Regions from separate parts of the Homo sapiens genome. Here regions 1, 2, 3 and 5 are each linked to region 4. Evidence: promoter capture Hi-C in human tissues and cell types (Jung and others, 2019). All regions are on one chromosome and are shown on one strand. The core of a region is centred on a gene start or on the middle of the fragment in contact, and the rest is flanking DNA. Distances in the headings are between cores, read along the strand shown.

Evidence for each region. Contacts are between HindIII fragments. The study calls those that stand out against the background at their distance.
Region 1: a contact is called between a fragment that was not itself captured here and the fragment with the promoter of OGFOD2 in region 4, in 3 of the 25 tissues and cell types used here (liver, lymphoblastoid cells and pancreas).
Region 2: a contact is called between a fragment that was not itself captured here and the fragment with the promoter of OGFOD2 in region 4, in 1 of the 25 tissues and cell types used here (IMR-90 fibroblasts).
Region 3: the fragment with the promoter of SNRNP35 here is called in contact with the fragment with the promoter of OGFOD2 in region 4 in 1 of the 25 tissues and cell types used here (lymphoblastoid cells).
Region 5: a contact is called between a fragment that was not itself captured here and the fragment with the promoter of OGFOD2 in region 4, in 2 of the 25 tissues and cell types used here (aorta and dorsolateral prefrontal cortex).

What each region holds. Positions count from the first base shown.
Region 1 is chr12:123,337,127-123,339,826 of GRCh38, reverse strand. The region is part of intron 5 of SBNO1 (strawberry notch homolog 1); the gene reads left to right. Among named protein-coding and RNA genes, the nearest start is that of MIR8072, 26 kb to the left of the region's middle. The HindIII fragment of the contact is 4,997 bases long and covers 1-2,700 here.
Region 2 is chr12:123,302,150-123,304,849 of GRCh38, reverse strand. SBNO1 (strawberry notch homolog 1) reads left to right here. Exons shown (of 32, transcript NM_001167856.3): 29 at 131-268; 30 at 1,950-2,026. Among named protein-coding and RNA genes, the nearest start is that of CDK2AP1, 32 kb to the right of the region's middle. The HindIII fragment of the contact is 7,141 bases long and covers 1-2,700 here.
Region 3 is chr12:123,456,889-123,459,588 of GRCh38, reverse strand. SNRNP35 (small nuclear ribonucleoprotein U11/U12 subunit 35) reads right to left here and starts at 1,450. Exons shown (of 2, transcript NM_022717.4): 1 at 1,373-1,450. RefSeq lists enhancers at 31-896, 1,143-1,222, 897-1,763. The HindIII fragment of the contact is 15,518 bases long and covers 1-2,700 here.
Region 4 is chr12:122,973,950-122,976,649 of GRCh38, reverse strand. OGFOD2 (2-oxoglutarate and iron dependent oxygenase domain containing 2) reads right to left here and starts at 1,406. Exons shown (of 7, transcript NM_001304833.2): 1 at 1,267-1,406; 2 at 783-839. The coding sequence starts at 1,398. It also overlaps a transcript of ABCB9 not described here. RefSeq lists an enhancer at 1,502-1,961. The HindIII fragment of the contact is 12,569 bases long and covers 1-2,700 here.
Region 5 is chr12:123,257,559-123,260,258 of GRCh38, reverse strand. It overlaps MTRFR (mitochondrial translation release factor in rescue), which reads right to left. Exons shown (of 3, transcript NM_152269.5): 3 at 2,299-2,700. Among named protein-coding and RNA genes, the nearest start is that of CDK2AP1, 13 kb to the left of the region's middle. The HindIII fragment of the contact is 6,691 bases long and covers 1-2,700 here.

The sequences.
Region 1 (2,700 bases), core at 170-2,669, 360 kb before region 4:
AGGGTCCTGAATTGAGGTTTTTATTGTTGTTGTTGTTTTTGAGATGGAGTCTTGCTCTGTTGACCAGGCTGGAGTGTAGTGGTGCAATCTTGGCTCACTGCAATCTCCGCCTCCCAGGTTCGAGCGATTCTTCTGCCTCAGCTTCCTGAGTAGGTGGGATTACAGGTGCCCACCACCAGCCCTGGCTAATTTTTGTGTTTTTAGTAGAGACGGGGTTTTACCACATTGGCCAGGCTGGTCTCGAATACCTGACCTCAAGTGATCCCTCCAGCTCGGCCTCCCAAAGTGCTGGGAGGCCAAGGTGCCCTGTGCTGAATTGAGTTTGAAGGACTTTGGACTTAGTCTAGCACCATTGAGCCAGTAGACATGGAGGGACCTGTTAGTGATTCAGGAGAAGTTGGGGTGCAGACTGAGTAAAGGGGTAGGGAAGACAGATTCGGGATGAGTAGGAGTAGGCAAAAGAGAGAGGTTGGAAAGTTGGTTAACCTAAGGGGGAAGTAAGAAGGGGTACTAGAGACCTTGCAGAGGGGATTGAAAAACGGAGAGGGGAAAGGAAAAAAAGAGATGACTGTACATAACGATACCAAAAGAATTTTGGGACTTGGTTCTAGAATATGGAATTGGAGACAGTGCAGCAAACTGTAGCTGAGGTTTTGAATGGGAACCAGGAGAACAATAGTGCTACTGGCGGTACCCAGTTTACTTAGTGATTGTCTACCAACAGCACTTGGAAGGTGATTTTTGGAAACTAAGAATGCATATTTCTTCAAGAAATGTTTTATGTGGTTCTCACATTTCCATTTCAGTCCATTATATACCAAAAGTTTTTTATTGGCTTAGCAGTTAAGTAACATCTCAGAGAGACTGCAAACTGATAGCCCATCAACCAAACTAGTCGGGGAGGGGGGGGGGGGCGTGTGTGTGTGTGTGTGTCGGGGTGTGTGTGTGTGTGTGTTTAGACGGTGTCTTGCTGTCACCCAGGCTGGAGGGCAGTGGTGCAATCTCAGCTCACTGCAACTTCTGCCTCCCAGGTTCAAGTGATTCTTCTGCCTCAGCCTCCTGAGCAGCTGGGATTACAGGCGCCCCCCACCACCACCACCACACCCAGATAATTTTTGTTTCTTTTATTTTGTTTATTTATTTTGAGATGGAGTCTCGCTCTGTCACAGGCTGGAGTGCATTGGTGCAGTCTTGGCTCACTGCAACCTCCCCTTCCCGGGCTCAAGCAATTCTCTTCCTCAGCCTCCCAAGTAGCTGGGATTACAGGCGCCCGCCACTACGCCCTGCTAATTTTCTTTTGTATTTTTTAATAGAGATGGGGTTTCACTACCTTGGCCAGGCTGGTCTTGAACTCCTGACCTCGTGATTCACCCGCCTCGGCCTCCCAAAGTGCTGGGATTTCAGGCGTGAGCCACTGTGCCTGGCCTGTATTTTTTAGTAGAGACGGGGTTTTGCCATGTTGGCCAGGCTGGTCTTGAACTCCTGACCTCAGGTGATCCGCCCACCCCTGCTTGCCCAAGTGCTGGGATTACAGGCGTGAGCCACCATGCCTGGCTGACAAATGTATTTTGTTTGGCCTTCATGGTATTTTGAAGAATTTTGAATTTGTTTGCTGACATATACAAATCCTGATTTCCCGGTTATTTTGAAAAATGGGAGTACCTGACAACCCCAGGCCCACGTTCCCCATCTAGGAAGATTTGCCCAGCGTTGTGTAGTGAACATCTACATGGTATGTTGGGCAAACATTTCCCAGGTACCGTGGTCTCCCTCACCCGAGTTATCTCTTTGACCTAAATTTGATGTCAGTTGCTATCTCACATGCACCTGGCTTCAAGGTATTACTTGTTTGTTCCCTGGATATAGTGGTCCTTCAGTATTACCAACTTATCCTTCAGTTATTCAATTATCATCAATTTTATGATGATTTTAAAAAACTATAGGTAGGAGAATAAAGGATGGAGGGAGAAAGGAGGCTGCTTATCTTAACATAGAATACATTTTTATTTTATAAGCGAGGACAGGGTTAGACGGTGGGGGTGGAGAGGACCCAGAATTTAGGTAATTTGCCTAAATTAAAAAACAGACTACACAATTAAATAACAGCAGAATTGGGATTCAAATCTATTCATTTGGCCAGTCCTGTTTTGTCTCGAATTTCCGAAATTGAGTTTTATTTTAGCATAATTTCTGAGAACATTCCAAGTTTTTAGATTTTATCTAAAGACTCCATAGGTTAATGTTGATTGGATGGTTATGTCCCACTTCTTTTCCTTTTCACGTTTGTTATCTATTTGCAACCATATTCTGCTCTAGATTCTGAGGTAAATGAAAAAAGAGCCTGTCCTTCACTTTTAATGCTGTCTCGATCTTGCCTTAATTTGCCTTAACCTGTAGGTTTTTGTTGTCCTCTTCCCTTGGCATACTGAGTTTCACAACAGTTTCTTTATATTCTTCCCTGAACAAGTGCATGCTAATAAACAGTTGCCTAATGATTGTACTGGTAGTGAAAAGTGGCTTATTCCGGATCTTCCTTTATTCCTTTAAGATCCTGTAGAGGAAGAAAAGGGAAGCATAACCGTGGTGACCATTCACTTGGTTTGCCGAGGACAGTCTGGGTTTACTTCTGTTTTCTCAGTGTAATCCTCAATAGCTCCCCAACTCAAATGTGCCAGGGTTTGGAAAATAAATTATATGGCC
Region 2 (2,700 bases), core at 85-2,584, 330 kb before region 4:
TTTTGAAGTTACCGTGTACTTACTTAGTGTTATAGTCTCAAATGATTATGTTTGCTGACGTGATGGTACAGAAACATGTCTTAAAGTGTGTATTATAAAATCTTTATATTTTGTCATTTTCTTTAAACAGATAAGGAACAACAAGAAAACTGCCATCTTAGTTAAAGAAGTGAATCCTAAAAAGAAACTTTTCTTAGTTTATCGACCAAATACTGGGAAGCAGCTCAAATTAGAAATTTATGCTGATCTAAAAAAGAAATATAAGAAGGTATTTTTTCATTTGTACATTATATTATATAGGAATACTTACTTTGGGCCAGGCAATGTGGCTCACACCTGTAATCTCAGCACTTTGGGAGGCCGAGGTGGGCAGATCACCTGAGGTCAGGAGTTCGAGACCAGCCTGACCAACATGGAGAAACCCCGTCTCTACTAAAAATGCAAAATATTATCCCAGGATGGTGATGCATACCTGTAATTCCAGCCACTTGGGAGGCCGAGGTAGGAGAATCACTTGAACCCGGGAGGCGGAGGTTGCAGTGAGCCAAGATCACGCTATTGCTCTCCAGCCCGGGCAACAAGCGCGAAACTTCGTCTCAAAAAAAAGAATACTTACTTTAGCTGGGCACAGTGGCTCACGCCTGTAATCTTAGTACTTTGGGAGGCCAAGGCGGTTGGATCACCTGAGGTCAGGAGTTTGAGACCAGCCTGGCCCATATGGCGAAACCTCATCTCTACTAAAGATAGAAAAGATAGCCAGGCGTAGTGTTGCATGCCTGTAATCCCAGTTACTCAGGAGGCTGAGGCAGGAGAATCACTTTAACCTGTGAAGTGGAGGAGGCTTGCAGTAAGCCGAGATTGCACCACTGCACTCCAGCCAGGGAGACAGAGCAAGACTCCGTCTCAAAAAAAAAAAAAAAAAAAAAAGAATACTTATTTTATAATATATTGAAATTGTTTAAGATAGCTTTTCTAGGTATGAAATTATATTTTCTTTTTCTTTCTTTCTTTTTTTTTAAATGAGGTCTCACTGTGTTGCAGAGGCTGAGCTGGTCTGGAACTCATGGGCTCAAGTGATTGTCCACTTCTGCCTCCCAAAGTGCTAGAATTAACAGGTGTCAGCCACCGCACCCAGCCTGGTTTAAGGAAAGTGTCAACTTTTGTTATGCTAATATCACAGTCTTAATGTTACCAGCCTTAAGAAACTTCTAAGGTTCTGTTACCCAGGCTGGGAGTGTAGTGGCGCGATCTTGGCTCACTGTAACCTCCGCCTCCCGGGTTCAAGTGATTCTCATGCCTCAGCTTCCCAAGTAGCTGGGATTATAGGCATGTGCCACACACCTGGCTAGTTTTTTTTTGTATGTTTAGTAGAGACGGAATTTCACCATGTTAGCCAGGCTGGTCTTGAACTCCTGGCCTTAAGTGATCCACCCGCCTCAGCCTCCCAAAGTGCTGGGATTATAGGCATGAGCCACCGTGCCCAGCCTAAAATGATTATTTGAAACAGCTTATCTCTTCAGTAAAGGAAGCTTCCAGTGCTAATCACAAAAGTTAGAATGTTTAAAGCCCTTCTCACTACCTCTTAGTTTTATTGTGAGGATGCCTCTATGTTTATATTTTGCAATGATTTATAGAAAATGTTAAGCGACCACTTTTCCTAACATTTACTATTAGGTTTTATTTTATTAATATTACCTTATATTATTATTTGTAGCCATTCTGATTTGAAAACAATTATAGTTAAGTAGTTATTTGAAAAATGTATTACATAAGAGGAACCAGCATGACAGAGCTTTTCAAATGGCGTTCAGATTCAGTTAATAGCAAGGGTTAGGCTTTTTGTGTAGAGATTATTTTAAATTGGCTACCTCTAGAATTACAGACCAGACTAGGTAACCAGTTTATTTAAAGCAATACTGTTTTCAATGAAATTCTTCTCATTTTTACAGGTCGTCTCAGATGATGCCCTGATGCACTGGTTAGATCAGTATAATTCATCTGCAGATACTTGTACTCATGCTTATTGGTTAGTATTTTCGTGTTTCCTACCAAATTTTCCAAAATTTAATTGAGATTTAAATACACCTTCACTCTTTATCAGTATGTCCTCATGAATTAACTAACAGATTAAGTATTGTCAGGCGTGGTGTGTTCCATCAGGAATATTTACTGGACAGTTGTAGACTAGAAACTGTTTAGTTTATGTACCTCCTTACTCTTCACTGATGCTTTCTTATTTCCAGCCAACTGTTGTCTGGCAGCATGACCTTAACAGTTATCCTTCATATTAGAACTTGCTTTTTCACGGCTGGGTGTGGTGGCTCACGCCTGTAATCCCAGCACTTTGGGAGGCTGAGGTGGGCGGATCACCTGAGGTCAGGAGTTCAAGACCATCCTGGCCAACATGGTGAAACCCCATCTCTACTAAAAATACAAAACAATTAGCCGGTGTGATGGCAGGCACCTGTAATCCCAGCTACTTGGGAGGCTGAGGCAGGAGAATCGCTTGAACCCGGAAGGTGGAAGTTGCAGTGAGTCAAAATTGCGCCATTGCACTCCAGCCTGGGGGACAGAGCGAGACTCCATTAAAAAAAAAAAACAAAAAAAAAAACAATAAGGCCAGGTGTGGTGGCTTACGCCTGTAATCCCAGCACTTTGGGAGGCCAAGGCAGGTGGATAATCTAAGGTCGGGAGTTCGAG
Region 3 (2,700 bases), core at 201-2,700, 480 kb before region 4:
CTCAAACTCCTGATGTCAGATGACCCGCCTGCCTCAGCCTCCCAAAGTGCTGGGATTACAGGCGTGAACCACCGCGCCTGGGCCTCATTCTCATTTTACTCATCAACAGGGGATGAGAGCCGAAATGAATGGTGGGGGCCAGGGCGCGGTGGCTCATGCCTGTAATCCCAGCACTTTGGGAGGCCAAGGCGGGTGGATTATTTGAGGTCAGTAAATTTTGAGCTTCAGGATTCTTATTGTGAAATGTAGCTAAATGTCACTTCACTAGGTTTTTGTGAAGATTAGATCATATGGTGTCTATAAAAATGCATTACAATTATAAATTATTATACAAATTTAGAAAATTTTTGGCCAGGCACGCGCTGGCTCACGCCTGTAATACCAGCACTTTGAGAGGCCGAGGCTGGAGGATCGCTTGAGCCCAGAAATTCGAGACCAGCCTGGGCAACAAAGTGAGACCCCGTTTCAATCAATCAATCAATAATCAATTCTCCGGGCGTGGGGTCGCGCCTGTGGTCCCAGATACTTGAGAGGCTGAGGCGGGAGGACTGCTTGACCCGAAATGTCGACGCTGCAGTGAGCCGAGATCGCGCCACCGCTCTCCAGCCTGGGCGACTCCCTGTCTCTGGGGAAAAACAAAAAAATAAATGAAGCCTCTCCTTCCTGGGTCTTCGGGGTAAGACTCTGCCCCTCCTGGCCGGGCACGGTGGCTGACGGCTGTAATCCCAGCACTTTGGGAGGCCGAGGCGGGTGGATCACGAGGACAGGAGATCGAGACCATCCTGGCTAACATGGTGAAACCCCGTCTCCAGTAAAATACAAAAAATTAGCAGGGCGTGGTGGCGGGCGCCTGTAGTCTCAGCTACTCGGGAAGCTGAGGCAGTGGAATCGCTTGAACCCAGGAGGCGGAGGTTGCAGTGAACCGAGATCGCACCACTGCACTCCAGCCCGGGCGACAGAGCAAGACTGTCTCAAAAAGGAAAAAAAAAAAAAAAAGACTTTGCCCCTCCTGTGAAAAGCAAAACTGAAGGCGGAACCCACAGAGCCCTCCAGGGCATGCGCAGTGGGCCTCGGAGGCAAACACCTAAGTTTCTGTGGAAAAGCCTATCCTTCCCATCCAGCCTGCAGCCTGGCCGCCAACCCTCGAGGCCGCTCCCCCGCCCCTCTCCTTCTCTGGGGGCCGCAGGGAGTAAGGCGCCATCCTTCCAATCCAGCTCTCGTCCCCACTCCCCGCAACGCAACCCAGAATGTCGTCCCCTTTGCCAGGTTTCAACATGGCGCCCCACACAAGCGCGGGCACAGCGTCTGGGCCGCACTCCCTCTTCCTTCTCTCCGGCGTGGGGCCCGCTCCTTCCAAGCCGCTTCCACTCACCTCTGCAAAGCTTGGGCTCCCTTCCGACGGAGACAGGCGAGCAGCTGCAGGCGACAGCAGATTCTCCGCGCCGGCCTCGGCCTGACCTTTACATTGGTAGCAGCAGATTCGCCGCCGACGCTCGTTTCCTGTTTGTTTTACCTTTAAAATTTTACTCCCACGCAACGAGGGTGTTATCATCTCCGAAGACAATAAGCTAAAAAAAAATTTTTTTAAGAGAAAAATTGCTAATTCAACAACTAAGTTGAAAGAAAGACTATCGAATATGCAGTTACCTGGGACATTTTACTTTATTATTTATTTATTCTTATTTATTATTTTTTCTTGAGACGGAGACTCCCTCTGTCGCCCAGGCTGGAGTGCAGTGGTGCGAACTCGGCTCACTGCAACCTCCGCCTCCCGGGTTCAAGTGATTTTCCTGCCTCAGCCTCCCGCGTAGCTGGGATTACTGGCGCCCGCCACCACGCCCGGCTATTTTTTGTATTTTTAGTAGAGACAGGGTTTTGCCATGTTGGCCAGGCTGGTCTCGAACTTCTGACCTCAAGTGATCCGCCCGCCTCGGCCTCCCAAAGTGCTGGGATTACAGGCGTGAGCCATCGCGCCCGGCCCCAATTTCTTTATAAAAAAAAAAAAAAAAAAAAAGGCCAGGTGGCATGCCTCACGCCTGTAATCCCAGCACTTCGGGAGGCCGAGGCGGGCGGATCACCTGAGGTTCGGAGTTCGAGACCAGCCTGAGCAACATGGAGAAACCCCTTCTCTACTAAAAATACAAAATTAGCTGGACATGGTGTCATGTGCCTGTAATCCCAGCCACTCAGGAGGCTGAGGCAGGAGAATCACTTGAACCCGGGAGGCAGAGGTTTCGATGAACTGAGATGGTGCCATTGCACTCCAGCCTGAACAACAAGAGTGAAAGTCCGTCTCAAAAAAAAGAAAAATCTATAGCTTAAAATTTTATGTTTGAAAATATATGGTAGCCACTGTCAGTGGAGGCCATCTGCAGTTTCAGCTACTAGGGAGGCTGAGTCGTGAGGCTTGAGGCCAGGAGTTCAAGTTCAGCCTGTCAGCCTGGGCAACAGAGCAAGACCCCTATGTTGTTGTTTGTTTGTTTGTTTTTGTTTTGTTTTGTTTGAGACAGAGTTTCACTCTTGTTGCCCATATTGGAGTGCAATGGCACGATCTCGGCTGACCGCAACCTCCGCCTCCCAGGTTCAAGCAATTCTCCTGACAGCCTTCCGAGTAGCTGGGATTACAGGCATGTGCCACCATGCCCGGCTAATTTTGTATTTTTAGTAGAGATGGGGTTTCTCCATGTTGGTCAGGCTGGT
Region 4 (2,700 bases), core at 157-2,656:
GGTGGCACAGGGTTGTTACCAGGTGGGGCCTCCCATCCTCCTGAGGCCACTGTACAGATGAAGAAACTGAAGCCCAGAACGCCAGACAGGGCCCAGGCTGGAAGCCAAGTCTAGCCTACACTCCTGAATCTATCTGGGTCAACTGCAAGTTCCAGACTGTTAGCTGAAAGGGACTTCTAGAAGGGGACCCATCCTGTTTCAGGCTGCCCCAACCTGAGCCTAGCTGGGATGAGAACCCCTAGATGTACCTCAACCATCTGGGCCCACACAGGGACAGGAGACAGTCATGGCCAAGTCCTGTGTTCCAGAGGTTGCTGAGGACTCTCCTGGGAAGCTTCCCACCACTGACTCCAGGGGAAGGAGGAGGAGGGAGTGGGGCAGCAGCCCTGGCAGCAGCCTGCGGGGTATATGGTAAGGTGTGAGGAGCCCAGGGGCCTGGAAGCTGTGGCTGGGATCACATCTGCTCCTGCTGTAAAAGCTTGGGCAAGGGATCCCTCTTTAAGCCTCAGCTTCTCAATCCAAAATGAGAGTGGTGCTTGTGCTTATCTCACAGAGCTGTTAAGAACGGCATGACTAGGCAACTTAGCAACTTAGCATTTCCCCTTCTCTCTCCTGGTGCCAAGACTCAGGTGTGGAGGGATGAGTGGGGGGCAGGAAGGAGGAAAGTGAGGGCCTAAGTGACCCTTCAGGGATCAGGGACTGAGGCTAGGCTCAAGCTGTGTCCTCAAGCTGCGGACACAAATCTAACGAGGAGGAGCTGTGCAGGGGCAGGGGACTGGTACCTCTGCTAACAGCTGCTGGAAGTCCTTGGCGCTAACACAGCCTCGGCTGCGCAGGATCTGGGAGCAGAAAGAACACTGAGCATGACTGTATGACCTGAGGAAATCCCTTCACTCTCTAAGCCTCAGTTTCCCCTGCTTAAAATGGGGAGAGGAGCCCCGACCTCAAAGGATCATGGAGAGAATGAACTGCGGAACCCTGTCAAGCTCAGGACAGGGCTCCGGGCTGGTGTTGCTGTGAGGCGGCAAGCTGAGCCCGGCCCTGTCCTAAGCACCCTACATGCTTGTTCATTCCTTCCTCACAATCTCACAGGGAGATACTATTACCCCTTTACGGTGAGAAAACCGAGGCAGAGAGAGGCCGTCATTCTTGTATTTGAAGATACGGTGCGCGGCGTGCGCAAAGCAAACGACCCTGGGGACGAACTTCCCTCCTCCACTACCCCTCTCTGCCCACTGCTCCGTAGGGACGACAGCGGCCACTCACCGGGCCGTAGTCCCGGCGCAGCTGCTGCTCGCCTCGGAAGCGCACGTGCAGCCCATAGCGCGCCACGTACAAGTTATCGGTGCAGAAGCAGGCGCAGCGGCAGAAGTGCCGCGGAGCCCCCACCGTCGCCATAGTGAAGCACCCACAGCCCTACCAGCTTCCGTAGAGAGACTTCGGGCACGCCCCCAACCGCGGGAGGCGCGGAACCAGCGGCCAAGGGGCCGCTCTAAGTTCCCAAGGGCGGAAAAGGACGAAGACGCACCTCGCCAGGAAACGGTCTGCGGAGAAAGATGCTCCTGGGCCGGGTTGGGACCGGCGGCCTCCTCGTTCCGCCTCCCAGTTTTCCCACTACGAGGCAGGGACTAATGGCTCCACTTTACAGACAGCTGAACTGGGTCGTGCCTTCACAGGACGGGGAGAGGAAGGGACTCGGAGCCCCAAGGCCTTTGACTTAAACGCCGACCCACCCCCCGCCGTCTGCCCGGAGCTCGTGGAGAACCAGCCGAGCTGAGGACAGTTTAAAGAGCTCGGAGGTCCGACTAGTTCCCGCTGGTGCTTCAATCATCCAGCCCTGTACGTTTCAGTTTGGATTTAGCATCTACCCCGGGTCCCTGCCTGGCGCTTCCGGTCCCTCCGCCACAGTCTGTTGGATTACCTCAGATTGCCCCAGTGAGTGTCTCCACCAAAACGCTCCGTCTCGCATTACTTCCGGTGGCGTTCCCAATGGACGCGGGAGGGCGGGGTCAGGTGTGGGAGGGCGACGGGGCGTGGTCTCACCGCAGCCAACAAATGACAACTCTTGCAGACCGAGCCTCTTCTCTCCCCGGACCTTTGCTCAGGAATCTACCAGCATTAAACCTTTGAGCTAGGTACTATTATATCACCGTCTTACAGATGAGGAAACTGAGACCCAGAGAGGCACAGGGACCCGCCGCAGGTCACACATCCAGTAAGGGGCAAATATGGCGTTTGAACCCTACAGAGTTCCCCAGTTAACCACCACAGGGCTTCTGGGAGTGGTGGAAGTATGTGGGATTTGGGGTTTTCTCGTGCAGAGCTGCCCGGCCCGAGAAGGTGTTTAACGTTTTACAGTCGTCTTGATTGCCCAGTGATAGTGAGAGGCCCTGCTATCTAGGAAAGGATCCATTTCCCCAGATCAATGTTCATTACCCGCCTAACTGCCCTTTTTCCCCAGGAGGCCCAGGGCAGGTCGGCTCCCCAGCCACCCACCAGGCAGGCCTGGCACATGCAGCACCCCACCCCACCCTCACCCCCTCTCCGTTTGCAGCAGTTTGCAAGATGAGTGTGTTGTACCTATCAGTTTATTTATTTGTTTATTTACTTTTTGAGATAGAGTTTCACCCAGGCTGGAGTGCAGTGGCGCGATCTCCGCTCACTGCAACCTCTGCCTCCCGGATTCAAGCAGTTTTCCTG
Region 5 (2,700 bases), core at 166-2,665, 280 kb before region 4:
TAAGGAAGAGGAACAGGCTATGACCTAATGCTTGCTCCGACCAGTGTAAGCATGCCAGGACAAATATTTAGGCTAAATTGTGGGAGCTAAGAACATAAAGTACATTGATTTCTTTACCACGGCTAGCAGATAATTAGGAATGTTAGCACAGGTCTTTGAATAAATTTTGCTTCGAAGAGAAGTTACCGTTTATTCCAAATTAAATGGGGAGGAAAGTCTTTGGAGAGGAACCTCTACTTTACCTTTTACAAGAGGTAGGAGATGCCTGTTCAAACTGTATTTTCCCATCTGACACGGAAACATTTTGGTGATATCATTAGCACAGTTGGCTGGGGAAAGAATGTGTTTGCTAAGTCAGAGGTAGGGATAAAGTGAAGTTGCATTATGGGTGTATTTTAAGTGCAGCAAACTTAAGTGTATGCTAGGAAAAAAAAATAGCAGCAGCAGTTTTTAAAAAAAAAATTTTTTTTTTTTTAGATGGAATCTCCCTCTGTTGCCTAGGCTAGAGTGCAGTGGCTTGATGTTGGTTCACTGCAATCTCTGCCTCCCAGGTTCAAGCGATTTTCCCAGCTTAGCCTCCCGAGTAGCTGGATTACAGGAGCGTGCCACCACACCCAGCTAATTTTTGTATTTTTAGTAGAGATGGGATTTTACCATGTTGGTCAGGCTGGTCTCCAACTTCTGACCTCAGGTGACCCAGCCGCCTTGGCCTCCCAAAGTGCTGGGTTTACAGGCGTGAGCCACCACGCCCGGCCAGAAGCAGTATTATTGAGTTGGCCTGTTACCCCATGGTTAGGCCATTCTCAGTTCGTAGGTGCTTATCCTGTGGGCTTTTGGTGGGTGCTACAGGAATCTTTTTCATAAAGTACGGCTCCTAACTTCAAGCTACTTCATATGGTGCTCACTGGAAGAATTATCTGCTCTGGTGCCAGGGAAAAAATGGGCTGCACTGGATGTGTTGAGAGTCCACGTGGTGGTCTCTGACAGTGCCTCCCAAAGGGATTTTAATTCTTACTCTATACCTTAGGCCCTAAATACCTGCAATGAGAATTTGCTTTGCTGAGCAGTAGACAAAGACAAATGAGAGAGACTTGTCTTTCTTTGATGCAGGCATGAGGCGAATTCTCAGCCATGACAAGGCTGAAGGCCAGCAGGAACAGGCTCTAGCGAAATGGGTGCTGTGTCCCCTTCCTGCATGTGGCAGAAAGTTGCAAAGGTATGAGAGAGGAGACAAACGGAAACCATTCTCCCTTATCTCCAGCTCCAAATTTCCCCTCCCACTCTTACTGGTTTCTTAGGTGTTGTTCTAGAGCCTTTATTTTCTACAGGGCGTTTGGGCTGGGGAAGGGTCCTGTACACTCGCAACAGGAGGTGTAGAATGAGCCCTGCATTGAATGTGTAAGCATCCAAAGCTGTCACTGAGGTGAGAAGAGCCTTCATTGGCAGCCTCAAAGAGAAAGGTGTGCTTGGATGTATGCACTGGACATGCCACCTAGGCCTACTGGACATGCCGCCTAGGCCTGCTGGACAGACTGCACAACTGAGGCCCTGCAACTGGCAATCTCCCAATGGCTTTCTCACCTCTCAGCATTTTTCCCTATTTGTTTTCTACGTGGACTCCAGAAGAGTTCTAACAAGCCAAGCTATAAAGCATGGCTTTAAAAGAAAAACAACTGTAAGGTAAAATCCAGCTTAAGTGACGTAAATTTACAAGCAAATCAGATTCTGGAACCTCACCTTTACAAATCTTGCAAATCAACGTGCAGGGAATGTGTTTGTTTCTACATCAGAGGCACAACTGGGCATCATACAGCCTAGAAGCTAATAGAGCACATGGACAAGGAACAGAGCCTTTAGCTCTTCCAACCCTCTTATTTTCTCTCTTTTTTTTTTTTTTTTTAGACAGTCTTGCTCTGTTGCTCACGCTGGAGTGCAATGGCGCAATCTTGGCTCACTGCAACCTCGCCTCCCAGATTCAAGCAATTCTCTTGCCTCAGCCTCCCAAGTAGCTGGGATTACAAGCGTGTGCTGCCACGCCTGGCTAATTTTTGTATTTTTAGTAGAGATGGGGTTTCACCATGTTGGTCAGGCTGGTCTCAAACTCCTGACTTCCATGATCCGCCTGCCCCAGCCTCCCAAAGTGCTGGGATTACAGGCGTGAGCCACCATGCCCGGCCCTTGTTTTCTCTTACTGTCTTGAGCTGACATGGGGATAACTGACTTTTAAGTGTCACTGGGCAGCAGCTTCCCAGCAGATGGCAAGTTGCCAAGAAATGCTATTAATGTTTGACTCCATTCTCCAGTTCTCCATAAAAATTGACTTTACTAATTACAAAAAAAATTTTATTATTACAAAACATACAATCTCACAAAGGTACAATTTGAAATACGGGGACACCCTTCTAACTACCACCCAGGTGAAGAAACAGAACTTTGTCAGGCACCCCAGAACCCCTCCAAGTGCCTCATCACAATGACAACTCCTTCCCTCTAGAAGTAGCCATTATTCTTGTATAGTACTGACTGTGTTTCTTTATGGTTTTATCTTATTTTTTAGAGACAGGGTCTTGTTCTGTCACACAAGAACAAGTGGACAGGTGGAGTGCAGTGGTGTTCATAGCTCACTGCAATCTTGAGCTCCTGGGCTCAGGTGATCTTCCTGTCTTAGCCTCCCAAGGTGCTGGGATTATAGGCGTGTGT